Linked DNA regions of Homo sapiens: regions 2, 3, 4 and 5 are each linked to region 1. Evidence: promoter capture Hi-C in 16 types of primary human blood cells and fetal thymus (Javierre and others, 2016). All regions are on one chromosome and are shown on one strand. Each heading gives the region's core, a stretch centred on a gene start or on the middle of the fragment in contact. The rest is flanking DNA. Distances are from core to core; before and after follow the strand shown. Region 1 holds the start of NKD1 (NKD inhibitor of Wnt signaling pathway 1). Region 2 holds the start of LOC101927272 (a long non-coding RNA gene). Region 3 has its middle 28 kb from the start of SNX20. Region 4 has its middle 54 kb from the start of LINC02178. Region 5 overlaps NKD1 (NKD inhibitor of Wnt signaling pathway 1).

The links. The method cuts DNA at HindIII sites, captures the fragments that hold promoters and counts their contacts. A CHiCAGO score of 5 or more calls a contact.
Region 2: a fragment that was not itself captured here is called in contact with the fragment with the promoter of NKD1 in region 1 in 9 of 17 cell types (non-activated CD4 T cells, naive CD8 T cells, total B cells and 6 more); the score reaches 11.5 in non-activated CD4 T cells.
Region 3: a fragment that was not itself captured here is called in contact with the fragment with the promoter of NKD1 in region 1 in 13 of 17 cell types (non-activated CD4 T cells, naive B cells, naive CD8 T cells and 10 more); the score reaches 15.9 in non-activated CD4 T cells.
Region 4: a fragment that was not itself captured here is called in contact with the fragment with the promoter of NKD1 in region 1 in 1 of 17 cell types (naive CD4 T cells); the score reaches 5.3 in naive CD4 T cells.
Region 5: a fragment that was not itself captured here is called in contact with the fragment with the promoter of NKD1 in region 1 in 7 of 17 cell types (non-activated CD4 T cells, naive CD4 T cells, naive CD8 T cells and 4 more); the score reaches 16.8 in non-activated CD4 T cells.

The regions. Positions count from the first base shown.
Region 1 is chr16:50,546,934-50,549,855 of GRCh38, reverse strand. NKD1 (NKD inhibitor of Wnt signaling pathway 1) reads right to left here and starts at 1,460. Exons shown (of 10, transcript NM_033119.5): 1 at 1,278-1,460; 2 at 1,107-1,139; 3 at 301-434. The coding sequence starts at 1,302. RefSeq lists silencers at 1,138-1,327, 1,368-1,817. The HindIII fragment of the contact is 5,196 bases long and covers 1-1,867 here.
Region 2 is chr16:50,668,730-50,671,651 of GRCh38, reverse strand. LOC101927272 (a long non-coding RNA gene) reads right to left here and starts at 2,797. Exons shown (of 3, transcript NR_110908.1): 1 at 2,492-2,797; 2 at 659-969; 3 at 13-504. SNX20 (sorting nexin 20) reads left to right here. Exons shown (of 4, transcript NM_182854.4): 4 at 1-23. The HindIII fragment of the contact is 1,314 bases long and covers 1,016-2,329 here.
Region 3 is chr16:50,652,266-50,655,187 of GRCh38, reverse strand. No RefSeq gene overlaps it. Among named protein-coding and RNA genes, the nearest start is that of SNX20, 28 kb to the left of the region's middle. RefSeq lists a silencer at 634-814. The HindIII fragment of the contact is 254 bases long and covers 1,314-1,567 here.
Region 4 is chr16:50,447,830-50,450,751 of GRCh38, reverse strand. No RefSeq gene overlaps it. Among named protein-coding and RNA genes, the nearest start is that of LINC02178, 54 kb to the right of the region's middle. RefSeq lists a silencer at 1,880-2,174. The HindIII fragment of the contact is 8,671 bases long and covers 1-2,922 here.
Region 5 is chr16:50,620,818-50,623,739 of GRCh38, reverse strand. It overlaps NKD1 (NKD inhibitor of Wnt signaling pathway 1), which reads right to left. Exons shown (of 10, transcript NM_033119.5): 5 at 2,032-2,138. Among named protein-coding and RNA genes, the nearest start is that of NKD1-AS1, 8.6 kb to the right of the region's middle. RefSeq lists enhancers at 2,313-2,820, 2,871-2,922. The HindIII fragment of the contact is 9,441 bases long and covers 1-2,922 here.

The DNA of each region.
Region 1 (2,922 bases), core at 211-2,710:
GTCAGAGCAGGCCCCCAAATCCCGCCGGTACAGACACGATTCCCCATCAACTGGACCTTCACCACCTCCCCACCTAGGACCTTTCCCCCAGGCAGCCCTCTGCCTCCAGCTGGGCACTTCGAGGTTCTCCAAGGCATGCGGGCAGAGGGTCGCGTTGGTGGGGCAGGGGGCAGCTGAGAAGAGATTTTCAGACCCAGAAGCTGTGCAGGAAAGTGCTCAAAGTTGGGGTGCATGGGTTTGGGGACCCATCTCTGAGGCTGAAAGGAGGCCAGGAGGTGGGGCAGGGGTGGGGAATCATACCCGGGTGCTTCGGCCTATGGTGCCCGCCAACCGCAGCTGTCGGGGTCCCGAGACACCGCCCGGGCAGCGCTGTCTCCCGATCCACTCCTCGATGCCCTTCCGAGCCCAGGCAGCGCTCACGGCGAAGCTGTCACCTGGGACGGGGACGACATGAAGCCCCTGAGTCTGGCTCCAGGTGCCAAAAGTTACCCCCGCGGAGGGAAGAAGGAGGCGCGGTGGGAGGCGAAGGACCACGGCACGGGGGCCAGGAGGGGGTTCGCGGGCTGGGGCAGGAGCCAAGAGAGGGACGCGGGTAAGTAAAGGGGGGTTCAGCGAAGCCCTAGGAGCGAGGAGCCAGAAGGGGGCAAGAGGGGTGAGCAGTACCCCAGGAGGACGGGTTTAGGATCAGACCAGGGAGCACTGGCAGCCAGGACTGCGGAGGAGAGGGCTGGGGGTCAGGAGAGGGGCCGCAGTAGGTGCAGGAGCCAGGATATCGGAAGAAGGGCCGGGGGGCAGGAAGAGGGGGCAGGGTCTTGCGGGGAGGCGCTTGGGGGTCTGAAGAGAGGGTGCCGTGAGAGCCGAGGGCAGGGACGCGGGAGGGGGAGGGGTTGAGGGTCAGCGGTGGGAGCGCAGGACCGCGGGGAGCGGGTAGGAGGGACAGAGGAGGGGGCGCGAAGGCTGCTCAGGGAGCGGGCTTGGGGGGCCGGTGGCCGGAACTGGGGCTTCGGGGTGGCCCTGGTCATAAGACCTGGCGGGCTGGGCCGTTCTGCCGCGGCCGCGGTGTCCCCCGCGTCCATCCCCGAGGTCTGCGCCCCGCGCGCCCCTACCTTCCGGGCTCTCCCTGCGCTTGCACACGGCGGCTGCAGGCACATCGCGAGGCGGCGGCGGCGGCGGCAGCCGCGGCGGCGGGAGAAGGAAAGAAAGGAAGGGAGAGAGTTAGCGACCGCGGCGGCGACGGCGGCGGGGCCCGGGGCGAGCGCGCGGGCGGGGGCACTGACCCGGCTTGGAGTGAAGTTTCCCCATGCTGGGGCTGCGGCGGCCGGGAGCGTCCCTAAGCCATGCGCCCGGCCCGCGGGCCTGGCGCCTCCCTTGGCTCTCCTCCTCCCGAAGCAGCCCCCGAGCCGAGCGGAGCCCGAGGCGGCGCCGGGACGCGCTCCTGCCGCCGTCGCCGCGGCCCGACTGACGCCCGGGAGCGCCGAGCCCCCAGCCCGCCGCCGCGGCCCGCGCCTCCCCGCGCGCCCATTGGCCGGTGCGGCGCATCAAAGGCAAGGCTGGTTGCGGCGGGGGCGGGGCCGGAGGCGGGGCAGGGCGGGGACGAGGGCGGGGCGCTGACGGGAGGGGCGGGACACAGTCCGCGCTCCCTGCCGCGGTCTGGGGCCGGGGGCCGAGCTCCAGGGCTGGCGACCCGGCGGGGCGGCTTGTCCAGGAGGCGTATTGGGACAGAACAGCCCGGCCATCGCTAACTGTACTGTCACTTCCCTCCGCTCCACGTTCTCTCTAAACGGGCAGGGCGGGACTCGGCGGCTCCAATTTACAGGTGGGGAAACTGAGGTCGGGAGCGGAGACCTTAGCTGCTCAGGTGCAAGCTTCGGCAGCGCTGCCTTTTCCCAGTCTTCCCACGACCTACCTTCTGCAGAAAGTGTTCATTACCCGCCCCGTGACCCGCCCCCCACCACCGCACTCCTCTAGTTTCTTATTTGGGGAGTCCAGGAGGAGCCCCCAGCGCACCCCGGGCCAGTGTGAGCCCAGCCCTCTCCAGGCAGCGACAAATGTCCAAAGCGCCCCGTTATCAGCCAGTCTCTGGGATCTCCTCGTCCGGGGGCCCGTGGGTGCCCGCCCGGGTCGGGGCGCGCTGCCAAACTGCGCGGCCCGGAAGGGGGTAACCGCTGAGTCTTTGATCTTCCTTGGTTTCCGCTCCCCGCTGCAGTTCGCCAGACCCAAGGGTTTGTTTGTTTTGTCTGGGGAGGTCTCTGCGGGGAGGTCGCGCGGGGGGAGGGGGATGGTGGCGGTCGACATCAAGGGATTCCACCCCACCTTTGTGGCTCTCAGAACGCCTGCCCCCTTCTGGGGACACTGTGGGTCCGTGTTACGCTCGTCCTGGCACCAGGCAGCTCTGGCGTGGGAAAAGAAAACCCGCAGCTCAGAGTGAGACCAGCCCCGACCTTTGGAGTGAATTACCTGTGCTCAGTTTTGTGATCTGTATAATGGAGGCTCCATTCTGCCCTTTTTGCCGACTCTCTAGAGCAGCACTGCCCAATAGAAATATAATGTGGGCCACATTTGTAATTTTAAATTTTCTTGTCGCCACATCTTTTAGAAGTAAAAAGAAATAGATGAAATATTAATAATATATTTCGCTTAACTCAATACAGTCAGCCCTCCTTATTCACAGGTTCCACATCTGTGGCATCAACCATCTGTGGACTGAAAATATGCAAAAAGAATAATACAGCAAAAATAAAGAATAAAAAACTTTTTAATATAGTATAACAACTATTTACATAACATTTACATTGTATTAGGAATTACAAGGAATCTAGAGATGATTTAAAGTATTCAGAAGGATGTGTGTAGGTTATATGCAAATACTACAGGACATTTTATATAGCGGACTTGACATCTGGGGATTTGGGTATCCTCTAG
Region 2 (2,922 bases), core at 423-2,922, 120 kb before region 1:
TGAGTCTATTTGTAATGATGAAACAGATGATATTGATTTTGTCAGTTATTTCTTCAAATCTAAAATGCTATCAACAATATGCAACAAATGTTTACTAACAAAGAAAAAATACCCAACATGGACAGTTTAATGGGATATTCCAGCACAAAAGCTGGAAAAGCAAAGAGTTAGACCCCCGATATGAGGGTTAACACCAAATAAGCCTGTTGTACAGGAGGGGACATTAAGGAAATTTGCACAAACTAAACTTGGCACTGGGTGGAGTACAGGGAACTTCCTCTGAGAATTTGAACTGCAAGCGGGCACTCGCCCATGTTTTAGGGCTGAATACACACAGCATGGTCCAAAATCCCTCAAGCAGAGAAATCATGTTAAAGTGGTCTCAGGTGGAGGTGTTCCAGGTGCCTCAAGACCTGGAGATCTTTAGGTCTTCCCTGGGGCTGAAGGATGTCAGCATCAAGCCAGGCCTATAAGAAGTGTAGGATCCTGTTGAGTTCAGAGGTGCTGAAATGTGAAAAAAAAAAGTCATCTCAAAATCACAGATAGATGATATGTGTGGGGTGTTGGGGGGGTGGGGCGGGGGGTGCACACAGAGAGAAAATACTTATATGGGAGTAAAGGAGCCTATAGAATCACATGGGGGGTTCCCCATAAGTACCTCTGAAGAGGGGTTGGCTTCCCACACAGTGCACAGGAAATGGATTTATTCAGGCTTCCCAAAAAGGGACTGGCCACATGGGGCAGCTTCAGGACCATCACTTTGCCTTTTCCCGATGACACTCAATGCTGCCCCTCCTCGTGCTTCTGGCAGCCTTGGCCTGAGCATCCACGGGAGTTTCTTCTGGCCATGGACACTGCATCTTCATCCACTACAAGTTGTCTGATGGACTGGGATGGCCTGCCACAGCCAGCTCCTCCTGGCATCTCCCATATGCTGCAGCAGTTAGAGCCCACTCGTTCCTTGGGTTCCTGGAACAAGTCCTTGAATTCCTTAGGCCCCCACCTCCAGCAAGCTTTCCGCAGGGCCCACTGCAGCCCCACCGGGGTACCCCACCTCCCTGTTTGCCTGGGCCCTCTCCCACGCCACCTGTATTAGTCCTTGTTTCTAGGGGACTTTAGAGTGGTGGCAGCTGGGACTGAACATTCTTCTCCTGACCCCTCAAAAGCTGGGTCCACAGGAGAGGTGAGGGGGTACCTGACCTCCATACCCAGGATGGAGCCTTGTTAGGAACACAGAATTTCAGGCCCCACCCTAGACCTGCTTAATCGGAGTCTGCACTTTAACAAGAGCATCCCCCACTGCCGCAGGTGACTCTTACCTGCATACCTCAAAGGTTGAGAAGCCCAGTGTTGAACTGACTTGAAGGCACCTCAATGAAAATCATCCATGGAACTGGGCCATCTGTGGTCCTGGGTTCATCCCCATCCTTCTCTTCTCTCCACCCGGGCCCTCTACCATACAGGTGCCTCATCCCAGGGGACTGCAGATGGGACTACCATGCCAGCCTCACAACCATACCTGCAAAACCACTCTGGGCATTTGGACTGGAGCTTAAAGGGGTTCATTCCAATGAAGCCCTCCCTGCTGCAGCAGCCACTCCCCCCCACTGGCTGTGATGGAGTCCTGGGGTCTCCACTTTGAGCTGGGATTAGGCATCCTCATGAGACCCTGTCCCCTGGGATGCCGGCAGTTCCCTGCCAAGCCCACAATTGAAAACAAGCTCTGCAAGCAGCTCCCTGTGCGGTAAAAGTCAGGGCTCCCCAGGCCTACTGTGTGACCAGGCACTGCCGGGCCATTGATAGCACCGTCACTCCAGCTCTGCTTGGGACATGTTCCTATCCCATTTTTCAGTTGAGGAAAATGTGATCATTTGTAACATTGTAACCTGAGGGGGTTAAGTGACTTGCCCAGGGTTACACAGCTAATAACTGGACCAGGAAATTAAGACCAGGCTTTAATTTGACCCAAGCCCTACTTTCCTTGCTGAACTCCACATTAAAGGATGTGGAGGAGAGGGGAAGGGATATGTTCCTGGTCCCCTCACCGAAATGGGTCCTTGATATGGTTTGGATGCATGGTGGTCACCTCCAAATCTCATGCTGAATGTGACTCCCAGTGTTGAAGGTGTGGCCTGGTGGGAGATGTTTGGCTCATGGGGGCAGGTCCCTCATGGATGGCTTGGTGCCCTCCCCGTGGTAATGAATGAGTTCTCACTCTGTTAGTTTACATGAGAGCTGGTTGTTTAGAAGAGCCTGACATGGCTCTTGCTCCCTCTCTTGCCATGTAAGTCACGAACTCCCCCTTCCCCTTCCACCATAAGTGGAAGCTTCCTGAAGCTTCACAAGAAGCAATGCTGGTGCCATGCTTCTGTACAACCTGCACAACTGTGAGCCAAATAACCCTCTTTTCTTTATAAGCTACCCAACCTCAGGTATTCCTTTATAGCAATGCAAAATGGACTGACACGCCTTTAAAGATCATTTCACTCACCTCTGTTTACAGATGGGGAAATCAAGGCCTGGAGAGATGACTTATCCAGGGTCACGTGGCGAGACAGGGACAGCACCAGAACCAGACCCGAGATGTCCACGTCAAAGTGACATGCTCTGAGAGGCAGCACACACAGAATAACCCTGCATCCAAATTCCAGGAAGCTCTTAGGGGTCATCCAGCTGGGCCTAGGGGTGCAGGGTCAGTGCTGAGGCCTGGGCAGGGCCGCTAGCCTCCCTGAGCTTTCTGGCTTCAGGCTGGGAGGCACAGTTCAGGGTGGACTGTGACCCCTTGGCCTAGAATGCCCTTAGCTCTGCTCTCTAGTGGCTGTCCCCATAGCTGGAACTCTGTTTTGGAGTGGCAAAACCAGTTCCACCTGCTGGTAGGGGTAGGTTGGCTCCCAACACATCCCCAGCAGGCCTCTCTTGGGC
Region 3 (2,922 bases), core at 191-2,690, 110 kb before region 1:
CAATGTTAACTGCTGCTTGAGCGCCACTGCCTCAGACATTAAATGAATTAAATATGCTCAGAGAAGAAAACAAATTATTTAGTATTGAGAACAGATGTGGGGGGCCCAGAATATACTGTTCACAAGTGTCTAGGGGACCCTTCACAGCTACAGAGGCTGGGCTTGGATAAGGACCCCCGCACTTCTCCCCACAGGCCTGTATCAAGCAAGGTGGCAAAGCAAGGAAGGGCCACCACCTCCAAGTCCCTCCAGGCCCATTCTCCTGGGCCTCCTCCTGAGGACCCTCCTCCACCAAGGAGACCCCATACGACAGCCTACCTTGTCTGGCACACAGAGAGGAGGGGATGGCCCAGGGGCTGTGGGTGCCAGGCAGGGGTTGACCAGATGACCCTGAGCCTGTCAAACTAGGATCACACCAGCCAGATCCCTGAATCCAGCCCTCCCTCCCTCTCTAACTCCAGTTCAGAAACTCTGCCTTGTAGTCAGAATGGGCTGGGTTCTGTGGCAGGAATGTAAGTCTGCATACAGACAATAACCTTAACTCTCCATGGCTTCACATATCACAGGGTACTTCTCATGCTCACAAAGTCCAGGGCAATGCAGGCGACTCTCCAGGATAATTTCTTTTCTTTTCTTTTTGAGACAGGGTCTCACTCTGTTGCCAGCCTGAGAGCAGTGGCACAATCACGGCTCACTGCAGCCTCGACCTCCTGGACTCAAGTGATCCTCCCGTCTCAGCCTCCTGAATAGTTGGGACTGACACCCAGCTGATTTCTGTAACCAAGACGCTTTTCTTCCATGCCACAGCTCAGCAAACCAGGCTCCTCCTCTCTTGCAGCTGTGCCATGTCAACATGAGGCTTTAGGGGCAGAGAGAACTAAAGAGACACGAACTGGCTCTTAAATACTTTCATCCAGGCACTTCCACTCCCAGCCATAGGCCAGAATGAGCCTTATGATCCCATGCAGGCAGGAGGAGCTAGAGCGCAGGGGGAGTGTGTGCAGAGCCAGCGATCAATAGAAATCTGTCACCTGCCTGCTGGATGCCACCAGCTGCGGTCCACTCTGCTACCTCCCATGGGATCACTACCTCTCAAAACACCTGTTGGGGACTGACCTGACATAGACCTGGCACTGTGCTCAGCACTGGCTCTCCCATAATGACCAGGACAGACATGGTCCCATCCCATTCCTTAAGGGGCTCATATCGGAGAAGGGAGGGGATTGAACAGTCCCTCCTCAAAGTTCCTGGCCCCCATTTCTGTGTCCCTTTTTTGTGAGCATCACCATCCTTCCTGACTCACAGACCAAGCTTAGTCAGCTCTCAACCCTGGAATGAGCCTCAGTTTTCTCATCTGTACAATGGGGATAAAAAGAGACTTAACAGAGGTCATCTGATGATCATGAGAAAGCAAGTCTCCAATTGGTGCAGCCTAAACAGCCACCAGGCAGTGGGACCAGGATTCAAGCTCCATCATCTGATTCCATCGCTCGAGTCTCTTCTGTGGCCCTTCCTCTTCCTCCTTAGCTGGGTGGACCCTGCAGAGTTTGCCTCAAACATTGAAGCTTTTGCTAAGAAGGAGGGGATCTGAGAGTCCAACTTTCCAGCCACAGCCAAGGTGAGCCGGGCCTGGCCTTGAGCCAACTTGGTCCCCTGAAGACTGCCTGAACTAGCCCAGCCTGATCCCCAAGGCATCCCTGGAACTGGCCCTGGCTCAGGTCATTCCAGGAGGGCCACAGCAGCTGTCCTTCAACCCAGGACCCAGACAGGGCCAGCTCCAAGCCCCTCACTCCCACCACCCTTTCTCCACATGTAGATGTGGTCAAAAACCTTACCATGGGACTGGTAAGGCCACCACGGCCACCATTAGAAACCTGATCCCGAGTTGCTGATTAAAACCAGGAGGGGTTTTTAATCAGCTGAGGCCATATGCTATTTAACCAAAGATGAAAGCACGAGTGATAAGCATCGTCTCAGAAAGGATGTCATTAAAGGAAGAGCAGAACAGCAAGAGGCAGCTTTTATCATTAGAGAAGCCCCTTGCAAAGCTCTCGTGAGGGGCTTCGGGGAACATCTGGGCTCGGTCTATTATGCAGTACTTACAACGTCATTGTGTTTGACAACGGCTCCTGAGCCCACGCCACACTAAACTTCTAAATATACAATTAATGTCTATTAATTATAGTTTTCAAATCAGCAAAATGAGCCTTCATTAACTTAATCGCCTCTTCTATTTTATCAGGAAATTGTACTCTTGGTGTTCATAATCCCCGCATCTGAAACCCCCCTTTGACAGGCGGCATGTGATGCTTGGCTGACTGTTTAAGGGAAGGCCTGCCTGTCCTCCCCGCATCTAGGCACCCCGCCTAATCCACCCTCGGCCATGAGACGTGAAGCCACTGAGGGCCTCCGAAGTATTCCAAAGGGTTTGTGAGCAGGCATGTGGTCCGGGAGATGGTGTTGGAAGTGAGGCGGCAGCTGCCATCATGGTACCTGGTCAAGCTGGAGCCCAGCTCAGATGGAACTGAATCTGAACCAGTATGTGTTGGGGGGATGATGTGGACAGGAAACTGGCCACTGCCTCTTGCATCTCTTTGGACCCTAGGCAGCCCTCCTTCTCACTGTCAGCAGCCTTGGGGATTATCTCGCTGCTCACAACAGCCGGTGTCTTATGATGTAATTAACCCCATTGCAGACACGGGCAAACTGAGACTCACAGAGGGGAAACGGTTTCCTCAGGACTGCAGAGCAAATTGTTGGCCATGCTGAGCCTTCAACTCAGCTCATCTAATGCCCAAGATAGGGCCTCACCCTGAGTTTGCATATATAATGGAGGTCACTGTTTTTCAGTGGACTTTCATCTTCTTCTCTCCCCTTGGCATGAAGAGTGCTCCCCTACCCCATGGCTTTTGGGCTTGGCCA
Region 4 (2,922 bases), core at 287-2,786, 99 kb after region 1:
GGGGCTCTTCCAGAGGAGGTGACTCATACTGATTCTAACATGTCCACATCTGTAGCATAATCTTCTTCCCGAAACTGCGAACCATCACCAGGGTCCACCATGCAACGGAATCACTTGTGCAAGTGGTGTTTGACGGAGATGTGGGGAAAGAGTGTGGGTCCACTTCGGAGCCAGTACAGAGTGGAGAAAAGAAGCAGTCATGGAGGAGAGATGATGGCTGGAGGGGAGCAGCAGGCAGAGCTAAAAGTGACTGTGAAGGCGTGAACACAGACATCGGCAGAAATCTCAGGTTGGCTTGGTCACTAGTCACCTGTACCCCAAGATGTGAACACAGAGTTTATGTCTATTTCATGAACCTCTTAAAAATGGGGTGATCTCTACTGACATGTGGGTTATACGGAGATGAATAAACCTATCTCAGCTCAAAGGAACTCAAAGTTGAAAAACAGAGAGGCAGGCGCCAGGCCAAGGGGGGCTCATCCAGGTGAGGCAAATCGGCCAAGGACTGAGAGCTGGTAGGAAGTAGAATGAGGATAGAAGCAGCCTCCAGACTCCAAAGCAGTGCTCCTGTCCTCACCCCCTCTCTGCCACCCCCCAGCGGAAGGCAAGCAGGCCATGTTGCTTCAGCCTCTCTCTTCTCCCCTGGGTCCAGCTTTTACCCTTGAAAGCCTCTTGCATCTAAAGCATGAATTCCATGTTAAATAGGTCAGGCCACCTGCCTTCCAGGCCCAGCTCTCCAACCTGTCAGGCTCGGGCTGAACCATGAGACTGTTTCTCTTCAAAGTGGCCCGGGCCTCTTCTGACCTGCTGAGCTCTCCCCTGTAGCCCTCGTCAGTCTGTAGCTTGAGTGACAGCCAGAGCTGTTTGCAAGAGCACGTGGCAATGTCTCCCTGAGACCACCCACCATATGGATCTCAATCCCTTTTCCCGGGATCTCTCTCCCATCATTGGCATGAGAAACATGGTAGGGTCCTCCCAATTCGTGTCTGAGATCTGTGAGGACAGACAGCAGCCACAGATCCACTGCAGAATGGGCGTGTGGGAAATGCTGTGTGGTATAAGCTGTCCTCGTAGTTATAGAGAACAAAAGTCATCACCAATGTCCTTTATTAAGGGTTTATTCTGTACCAGGCTGTAGGTGTCCCCATTTGCTTCTTATTGTGAGAATTAAATTAGTGATGACAGGTACCTTCATTATCCCCATTTTATTAATGAAGAAACAGAGGTTCAGAGAGGCTAACTGGTTGCCTAATGTCACACAGCTGGTGAAAGCTGGGATTGACACCCCCATTGTCCGGCTGAGGAGTCTCTCAGCTCTTTCAGCGAGCATTGTGTTGTAAACACCTGGGGTCTTTCTCCACAGGAACACCCTAAGTATGGTTTGGGCTCAAGTGGCTGAAGTCTTGTCCCCCACTAGAATGGAAATGTCTTAGGGACAGGGTCTATCACCTCTTCATGGTGAATATCACGCAATGGGGCTTGAGGCGGAGGGATCTATTTGTGCCTGGGACAAAAGGGGGCGCAAGGAGGAGCAGGTCCCCACGGTTCGGCGGGGTCACCGGCTGGGCTGGCTGCCTGGCTTTCCCAAGCCTGAGGTGAGCATAAAAAGGCCAGTACAAGAAAGAGGAGGGAAAAAAAGGAAGAGCAGGAGAAGGAAGAGCCAGGCTGATCGGTGGGGAGTGCCTGCCCCAGATGGCCTGTGCGTACCAGGACTGTGGGGGCTTCCTTCACACACCGTCTGAATTATTCAGACAGGGAGGCCACAGGGGCCCGAGAGGTCTATGATGGTTAGGGGTTTCATGGCCACTTAGGTGGACCAAAAAAGAAAAGAATTGCGTTCCGCCTGCTTATCTCCTAACCTTATAAACTCAGGATTAGCAGATCAAGGGAGGATTTGGCACAGCTGAGGGACGACAGTGGCTTCAGAGAACAGTTTGGGCTCCATCCTTCATAATCAAATGAGCTTAGGTCATTGATAAGTAAATGGCGTTTTGAATCCCTCTAATTGGGCGTGTGGGTCACGCCTGAGCCCAGGCAGCCCAGCCGTCCTGGCAGAGTTAATGAGCCAGAGAGGGGCCTGGGTGTGGATCCCAACAGTGGCCACAAGAAGGAGTGCCAGGGTGTATCCTGGCTTGGGCAGGGGCCCCAGAAGTTAAGAGTAATCGCTTTGGAGCCAGAAGTGATGGATTCAAGCTCCCAGCACTGCCACCAGCTAGCTAGGAAACCTGGCGGGGGCGAGGGGGTGTCCCATAACTGCTGGCACCTCAATTTTCTCAGCCGTAAGATGGGGCCATGGACGTGTTAATAACTACCCTTTATTGAGAACTCCACACTCCATGTGCGGTGCTGTCAGAGGGAGGCATCACTCAACCCAGAGCCTATGCTCCTAAGGACCAGTGGAGACCAGCCTTGGAGGGCATCTGCAGCCTGAAAGGGACAGCGGAGTCCAGAGCAGGAGGCAGGGTGACAGCCGCTTCTCCCCTCCCCGCTAAGTGACCATGCAGACAGCACTGTGCCTTCACTTCCTCACCGGTAAGCGAGTTCTCCCGGGTGCAAGGGCACCACTGCAGGGAAAGCCCCGAGTGATGCCATTAATCAGTGATTGCTGTTACCACCCTTAGTGCTGGATCCTCCTTAGTGATGTGAATTTCCTGTGCCAGTCACCTGCCCGTTTGATATCGGGTCTTATCTCTGCCCTTACGCTCTGCTCTGTATCCAGGAGTGACGTTCCCTGGACTTCTTGGCCACCTGGTTTCTGGGTTGGTTTGGCCAATGGGCAGCACTGTGGAGAGCGAGGGGAGAGAAAAGCTAAAGTGTTTCTCCCCTCACTGTGTTTCCTGTGGTGTCCCCAACACCACTGTGTCAGCTCTCAGCTCCCAGCAGAGAGCCCCCACCAACCTTCAAATTCAGCCTCCTGCTGCA
Region 5 (2,922 bases), core at 302-2,801, 74 kb before region 1:
CACACACACACACAGCACTTACCTGTTTCCAAGACAGCTTGGGTCTGAGCTTCAGAAACATGAGTTGAGTAACTGGCCACTTGTCCCACCTGTCACATGCGGGTCTCCTAGGCCTCTCCCACACCCCACCTGGGCTTCTCAGCTCAGTTGAGTCCTGCCCATGGACCACAGCTCAGTCCCAAGTCTGCCCCTCCAGAAGCAAGCGCACTTGGGCTTCCAGGGAGGCAGGATGCCTGGGCCTGGTCTTCCTTCTGCCACTGAGTTCAGCCCTGGGCTTTGCCAAGCTCCCCAAAAGACCCTACAAGGACCCAGGTGGGCTTAGGGCGGGGCTGGGCTCCAGGAAGAAGCTGGCAGCCCTAACTCCTACTAGATACTACCTATCCTCCTCAGGCGAGCCTTCAAGCCTCTTGGAGGCTGGAGTGCTCCTGTGCTGTGTGGGGAGAACAAGCTGTGTGGTGTGGCCTGTGCAGGATGGTGGGGCATGGCAGGGAGATGACACTGGAAAGGGGGTAAGATCGGTCACCAGAGACCCTGCACACAGGGCGTCTCCCCCATGTCCCACCATCCAGCACAGGCCACATCACGCCACTCACTCTCTCCACACAGCACGCCGGCACTTCAGCCTCCAGGCCTTTGCTCCTGCAGCTCCCTCTGCCTGATAGGCCCTTCTCACCCCAAAGGCTCCCCTGTGCACCCCTCTCCCAACTCCTACCCCTATGCTCAGAGCCTCACCCACCTCCCCAGTCTCTATCCACAGCCGCTGTTCCCTCCTCCAGGCACCGCACAGAGCCTGGAAATGCCAAGTGTCCGTTACCCCACACCCCTCGGCCTGACCCCACTCCAGGCTCCCAGATCTCATCTCATCACTGACTGTGCAGCCACTGGGTTTGGGGCGCTCAACTGTCCCCTGGTCACACTGTGCACTCCTTGACGGCAGGAACCACACCCAGTCTAAGCTGGGTACCCTGGCAATTAGCCGGTGCCAATCAGCATTGGTGAGAAAGAGGGGCACCCTCTTAAGCACTTTAGACCTTTAGGCGCACGAACTCATGCTGCTGACAACAGCCCAATGCGACAGACATCACCATTATCCCCACCTTACAGGCGAGGCACGTGAGGCCACTGAGACTTTAGGGAACTTGCCCCAAAGTCTCAGAGCTACTAAGTGTATAGCCAGGATTTGAACCCAGGCCTGCTGACTCTAGAGCTATGCCCTGGTGGTCTCAGGAAGGCAAACAGAGGGAAGGAGGGAGGGAGCAAGGAGGGCAGAGCAGTGGGGAAGCTCCATGCAGCAGGCCTGGGCCTGGCTCTCAGCACTGGCCACTGTGCTGGGGGCACAGGAGCGTGCTACACTATCAGGCGGTGGGGAACAGACTGTGCAGCCACTGGGTCTGGGGCACTCAACTGTCCCCTTCTCACCCCAAAGGCCCTTCTTTTCCCAAAGACTCCCTTGTACATCCCTCTCCCAACTCCTACCCCTACGCTCAGAGCCTCACCAACCTCTGCCCACAGCTGCTACTCCCTCCTCTAAGCACTGCACAGAGCCACACGGAGGCACATCCTTGGTGGTGCCCACATGGGGAAACTCAGGCCCAGAGAGCGTCAGGGTCCTGCCCGTACCTCCTGTTCATCCATCCCACCTGAGATCCCCCACAGGCACCCCCAGAACAGCCTCAAGAGTTGGAAGGGAAGGTTTCACCGAGGAAACTGAGGCCCAGAGAGGTGACAGCAACAGAAGGGCCAGAGTCCTGCCTCCCTCGTCTACTCTCATGCCCTCTCCCAAGCTGCTGGGCACAGCCCGCATGGAGGGGCTGGGGCTGGGCTGAGGGGGTGGGCAGCGGTGAGTCCCTGGGGTCTGCCCTGAGCCAGGACGGCCCCAGATGTGGCAGAAGGAACCTCCCACAGAGGGTGCTGTTCATGCAGGGGAGGGGCCTTCCTGTCTGGAAGAGCCTCAGCTTCCCTCCTCCCAAAGCCCCAAGCTGAGAAAACCCATCTCATCTCCTCAGGACCCAGCACCAAAAGGAAACTTACTTCAAACTTCAGCTGCTTCTTGGAGCCTGGGCAGGGTTCGCTCACTCTCTCCATCTTCTTCTCATCTCCGCTGCCCAGCCCGTCAGTCTTCTCAGGAGGCAGGGCCACTGTCGGGGAGGCAGGCGAGGGAGCATTAGGAGCAGGGTCCAGACGCCGGGCAGCCATGCTCACTGCACCTTTGTCCTCCATGCCTGGCCTGGACATTCTCGCCAGGGGGCTGGGCCCGCTCCTGCCCTGCCCATTTGCTGGGGTCAACATCACACTACTCTGGCACCTGGTACTGCCTGGGAAGACCTTCCCCCAACATGGTGCACCCACTTGCACCGTGGGGGGCCCCCTCAGGCCCCCACCAGCCTATGACTTCTGCCCTATGGAGGCACACAGCCACCCAGAGCAGTGTCAGGCCAGAGGGCAGATGGATGAGAGTGGAGGGGTGCTTCTGGAGCCCAGCGAGGGAGCTTAGGGACCATGGCCATTTTCTGCAGTCTCACTGCCTTCTGTGTTGACATTTTGGCCTCCTCAAAGGTGCCACCCACCTGAGCACAGCCTACGGCACCTTGGTGGATGGCCAGGAGGAGTGCCAGAAACAGAGTTCAACTGGGTTGGCAAAGAAGTGCACACATGCACCGTCCACATACATGTATGCACAAGCGCACATGGACACACATACACACGCACATGCAGACATATGTACACTCATGCATCACACCTGCTTGCACACATATGCACACTCACACATGCACACACACTCACACATACACAAAAGGCATCTTCAGGGAGCACGCTCATCCTGAACCTTGCATTTGGCCTCTGCTCACCCCAGGTCCTCCCCTCTCTGCCAAAGGTCACGGTCCTGTGTGTGGCCTGCCAGGAAATGTGGGAGGGTGAGTG